2 separate regions of the Homo sapiens genome follow, and region 2 is linked to region 1. Evidence: promoter capture Hi-C in human tissues and cell types (Jung and others, 2019). All regions are on one chromosome and are shown on one strand. Each heading gives the region's core, a stretch centred on a gene start or on the middle of the fragment in contact. The rest is flanking DNA. Distances are from core to core; before and after follow the strand shown.

The links. The method cuts DNA at HindIII sites, captures the fragments that hold promoters and counts their contacts. A contact is called where the count stands out against the background at its distance.
Region 2: a fragment that was not itself captured here is called in contact with the fragment with the promoter of FBN1 in region 1 in 1 of the 25 tissues and cell types used here (lymphoblastoid cells).

The regions. Positions count from the first base shown.
Region 1 is chr15:48,644,330-48,647,147 of GRCh38, forward strand. FBN1 (fibrillin 1) reads right to left here and starts at 1,380. Exons shown (of 66, transcript NM_000138.5): 1 at 1,246-1,380; 2 at 277-621. The coding sequence starts at 440. It overlaps FBN1-DT (FBN1 divergent transcript), which reads left to right and starts at 1,476. Exons shown (of 2, transcript NR_183872.1): 1 at 1,476-2,501. RefSeq lists silencers at 355-404, 505-634, 1,045-1,224, 1,265-1,344 and enhancers at 1,418-1,942, 1,455-1,544. The HindIII fragment of the contact is 10,434 bases long and covers 1-2,818 here.
Region 2 is chr15:50,147,523-50,150,222 of GRCh38, forward strand. It overlaps a transcript of ATP8B4 not described here. Among named protein-coding and RNA genes, the nearest start is that of ATP8B4, 30 kb to the left of the region's middle. The HindIII fragment of the contact is 5,114 bases long and covers 1-2,700 here.

The DNA of each region.
Region 1 (2,818 bases), core at 130-2,629:
CTTCCCCAAGGAACTCTTCTCGCCTCCCAAAATCTGCCTCAACAATGGCCCAAGATTCCATTTAACCACGTCCTCTCCTTTGGGGCAGAAATCTCTGGGAGTAGGGGCAAGGTAGTTTAACCACGAACGGGGTGGGGACTAAACAACCCTAGCACCTCTAAGGTGCCCCCAGGAGGTCTTGCCAAGGAGTCTTCCACAGGGAGAGTCATCCTGCCCGTTGTTCTGGATCTTGAAACTTGGGAGACCCACACCAAAGGAGGGAACCGGTTCCTTTACCCTTTAAGCGCGTCGTGTCCTCCACCGCCTCTTCTCTTGGCCCGACTGGCTCTGGTTTCCTTCACGTTCCCAGCCTCCAAATTGGCGTCCGCCCCATGGCTCGTGTAGGACGCTAAAAGCACGGTAAATCCCAGGGCGATCTCCAGCAGACGCCCTCGACGCATGATGCCGAGCCGCCACCGGCTCCCGCCGCCTCTTGCCGCGCCCGGGGCTCGGTCTGCGGCCGCCGCTGCGCCCTGAAGCGCACCGCGCCGCCGGGGTCCCGCTATCCCGCCGCCCGTCCCCCGGGCCGGGCTCCTCCCGCCTTCTCCAGGCGCTGCTCCCACTTCAGGCGGCCCCTGCCAGCTGCAACACAGAGACAAATCCCCGAGGCGGGGAGACTTTCAGGGCATCGGGATGCTGAAGCCTCGCGGTCCCCATTCCCAAGCCCAACCCGTGCGCCGCCTGCGCGTGGCGCAGTTAATTTGGGTAAGGGAAGACCGTTTGGTCCACAGCTGGCTGGAAAGCCCAGGCCCCCGGCGGCAGCAGCCCCGGCCGATCCCTCGGCCTCCCGGGCCCCGCCAGAAGAGCGCGGCGCAAAGTACCCATATCCCCAGCGGTCCTAAGCCCCGGGCGAGCTCTCTGGGTTTATTTTTTTTAGCGGCACGAATTGCGCGCGATGCGCGCTCTGAACGCCCCACTCCTCAGCCTGCCCTCTCCGCCAGGCTGGAAGCCAGCCGCGCCGTCCCCGCCGACTCCGGGCGATGCCACCGCCCCCCGAACATCTGACGCGGAGCCCGGCACCAAGAGCCCCGGGCCAGGAAGCTGTCAGGCAGGGGAGGGCCAGCGCCAGCTGTGGACGTTCCGGGACAGCCCCTCACCCCAGTCCCTGTCCCTGCCCTCGGCGCGGCGCAAACGCAAAAGCCTCCGTGGCCGCAGCTCCAGCCCCGGTGGCCGCCCGACCCCCGTCGGGACCCCGGCTGCACCCACTGGAGAAGCGGCGGCTCCGACTCCCGAGGAGGCGGCGGCGGCTGCTCCCAGTCGTGGCCGCTACAGCCACTGCTCGGCTCCGCTCGCAGCTGTCCCAGCTGTGGCTCCTGTCCGCTTGTGGCACCCACAGTCTCTGCCGCGGCTCCCGCAGCCCCCTCCTTTCCCCACCTCTTCAAGTATCGTCCGCGCAGCGGTTTCTCGCGAGAGAAATACTTTTTTTAAAAAAAGAAAGAAAAAGAAAATGACACCCCCTCCTTCGTCGCCCTCATCACCACCCCACCCCCCGGCCCCATCCATCCTCCCTTTCCACTCCCCTTTGCCAGCCTCCGCCTCGGTGCGGGGCCTCTCGCTCGCAGGATTAGCGCAGTGGGAGGAGGCAGAGGTGATCAGGTCCTGCCCGGCCTGGGACTTTTTGTCTTGAGGTGGGGAGGGGAGAAATGGGAAGAGGTGGAGTAGCGGTTTTAGCCCGCTCTGCGGCTGCGAGGTTTAGATCCGAGATTAACCTCTCCCGCGATAGGTGAAGCCCTACCGGAGCAGAAAGCTGTTCCACCTGCACCAAGAATGCGCGCTGGAGACGGTTGCCCCGGAGGCCCTGGCCCGAGAGAAAACCAGTCCCCGCTGCCCGCGCCTCCCGGTAGCGCGCTCCCTGCGCCTCTCCCGCCGGACACTCAGCAGACGCCGGAGGCCGGGAGGCTAAGACTGGGCGCGTCGCAGGCCGGGACCGCGGCAGAGGCTGCTGTGCCGACCGAGGAGAGGGCTCTGCCGCCCCCACTTGCCCTGGGTGTCGAGAGCCCACTCCAGACGCGGCTCTTCTGAGGCTCAATTCAAGCCACCCAGGCCTGAATCCAGGGTGCTCTCTCTAAGTCGGTGTCCAACCCAGGGGCCTGTAAATGTTGGAACCTAGGATGTAGGATGGGAGCGGTGAAGGGATGGTCCTCTTGCCCAGCCCAGATTAAGACTGGGGTTCATCTGGAGGACTCTACTTACACCCTCCCGGTCCCCTCGCCCTCCCCCACACACAGCTGCCTCTCCCCAGGATATGCGCGGCACAGTGAATTTAGTGGCTTTGAAAGGTATAGTATTTGTGGCATCCTTATATGGATAATGCCCAATGATGCCTGCACCCTGTAACAGTTTAGGAAGGCCTGAAGTCGCACACTGGGTCCTGGCTGCTGTAACTGGAGACCCCCAGAAGATCCCCTGCAAGCAGCCACCAGCCTGCTGTCAAGCCAATAATAAAAGCTCAGCACAAACAGGTACCCTGGGAATGTATCTTGTTGAAAGGGATTTTCCTTATTTGTAACCGTTTGTAAAGGGGCCCAGACAGTAGGGTAGAGAGACCTGGGCAAGTTATTCAACTTCTTTCCAAATACAAGATGGGACTTGTAGTGTCCACCACACAGGGTTGTAATGGTGATGATGGACATGCTGAACTGCTGTGATACATGAAGATGAAACAGAAAAACTGTGGGAACTATGAGCTGATCTAAAGCCATAGTCCTGTAAGTATGTATGTGGTGTACTTTAAGGTCTCACCTGCAAAAGGTCTCTTAGCAGATTCATGAATGAGAGC
Region 2 (2,700 bases), core at 64-2,563, 1.5 Mb after region 1:
TCCATGTCTAAACACCATAGTCAAAAGACAAAAGCAGGATCCCACGGAGAAATGGTTGATTCCAGGGCTGGGTCAAGGGAAGCACAAGGTGATCCTGGAACATCTTTTGTTTCAGAACATCAGAACATGCTCAAAAGCTGATCGGGACCTGCCAAAAGACACAGGAGCCAACCAAGATCAATGACACAAAAGAATATATAACATTGAATTTTTTGAAAATTGCTGAGTCTATACCCAACCTTTAAAGGAGGAAAAAAAGAAAAAGAAAAGATGCCAATGAATGCATGTGGAAGGAATGATAGAAACAGAAAATCACCCTCTCAGAACCACCATAGAAATAATAGATTCAGGCAAGGATCATCAAAGAGTGCCAAAATCATTCAGTGGGAAATTGGGGCGTAAAAGAATATTTATACAATCTAAAAGTATAACTCCATGCAATACATATTAATTACAAAGAAGAACTATATCTTTCCAATGCATCTAGCAGTTAGCATTTCTACTAAGTGATCCAACTTAATACGAGCAATAATGGGACAATCAGGCAGCAGATGCCTCCTGGTCTGACACACTGAGAAGGACAGAACACCACTTCTTTAGTGTTCCTGCCAAACTGCAAAACCTGAATCTAATCATGAGGAAACATCACATAAACCCAAGTTAAAGAACATTCAACAAAATACTGGCCTGGACTCCAAAAATGTTAATGTCAATTAAAGACCAAGGAAAAGCTGGGGAACTGCTCTTGATTAAAGGAAACATAAAAGACATAAATAATTATATTTAATATTAAATGCAATCTGTAATCTAGATTGGCTTTTGGATGGTTTACAAAAAAAAAGCTATAAGACATTGCAATGGGTTGAATGTGTCCCCTCCAAAATGTAGGTGTTGCCAATATGACAGTATTAAGAGGTGGGGCCTTTAAAAGGGGATTAGGCCATGAGAGCTCCTCCCTCATGAATGGGATTAAGGCCCTTACAAAAGAGGCTTCATGCAGTATGCATTCCTTGCCATTCCACCTTCTGCCACGTGAGGACACAGCATTCCTTTTCTTGGAGGCTACAGCCTTCACCAGATAACCAAACCTGCTAATGCAAAGGATCTTGGACTTTCTAGCCTCCAAAACTATGAAAAAATAAATTTCTGTTCTTTATAAATTACCCAGTCTAAGGTACTCTGTAATAGCAGCACAAAACAGGCTAACACAGATATTATTGAAGTAATTCGAAAACTGAATAAGAATTCATATTAGATAATAATATTAAATGTAATATTAGATAATAAAATTGTATCGACTTCAAGTTTCCCAAGTGTTATAATTCTGTTGTAGTTAGATTACAAAATTCTCTTGTTTTAAGTGATACGTACTGAAAGTATTTAGGAATAAAATGTTATATTGTCTACAACTATCTCTCAAATGGTTCAACATCATTTCATCCATAAGTACTTAGTATGTATCTCAAAAAGATAAGTATCCCTTTTAAAAATAACAATACATCATGCTATTTTTAAAGCTTCCCAGGTGATTCTCTTGTTCATCTATGAATCAATACTACAGAGATGATAAGCAGAACTAATCTCAGGGGTTAAATGTGAATGTGGTGGTGGCAGTTGAGAACATTGTGTTAAGAACAATTCTGACACATGATTAGGCTCAGCCTAAGATAATGCCATGATTGATTGGCTAGGTCTGCCGTAGTGCCCAGTATGTCCCTGTATATTATCTGAGTCATGTCATAAGCATAAAACACAGAAGACAAGAGAGAGTAAGCTATAGGCCAGAAGTTAGAAAGGAGATCCTAGTATCACTGGTAGAGTCTGATCTGGTGATAGACTGCTGACCTCTCTTCCTCTTCAAATCAGTCAGACCTGTTTTCCTGGTTAAACAGTTTATAAGGAAACAAAAGGCAAGCATGGGAGGGGATAATATGTGTATGTGCACTAAGCCTTGAAGCAGATCTCTTTGATCATCACAGAGTCCACTGAGGTGGTAGGAAACAACTGCAGAGAGGAGCTCTTTAGAGAAATAACCACAATAATAATAATGATAATGATGATAATATGCTCAAAAGAGAAGTGAATCTAATGAAAAACTACTTCATTAGAATGAAATTCTAATAGAGGCATTTATCAACCTAAATAGCAAAGAAAGACTCTCTAAAAATAAATGATATGTATTTGGGAATAAGGCATTGCAGTGGGAAAGCACATGCCATAGTAAACTATGTGTGTATTCAGGGCAGTAAAGGAAGACAAAGGCTTTTAAGAGAAAAATTAAGAAAATTTCATAGTTGGCCGGGCACAGTGGCTCATGCCTGTAATCCCAGAACTTTCAGAGGCCAAGGTAGGCGGATCACCTGAGGTCAGGAGTTTGAGACCAGCCTGGCCAACATGGCAAAACGCTGTCTCTACTAAAAACACAAAAATTAGCCAGGTGTGGTGGAGGGTGCCTGTAATCCCAGCTACTCAGGAGGCTGAGGCAGGAGAATCGCTTGAACCCGGGAGGTGGAGGTTGCAGTGAGCCAAGATCACGCCACTGCACTCCAGTCTGGGTGACAGAGCAAGACTCCGTCCCAAAAAAAAAAAAAATTTCATAGTGGTTTTTGAGATAATTATCCTTGGCTACAAGGATCAGTAACAGTAACAAGAGTGACAGCAGGTGAGCTTGAACAGTGAGTTGCTGGGCAAATGTCCACA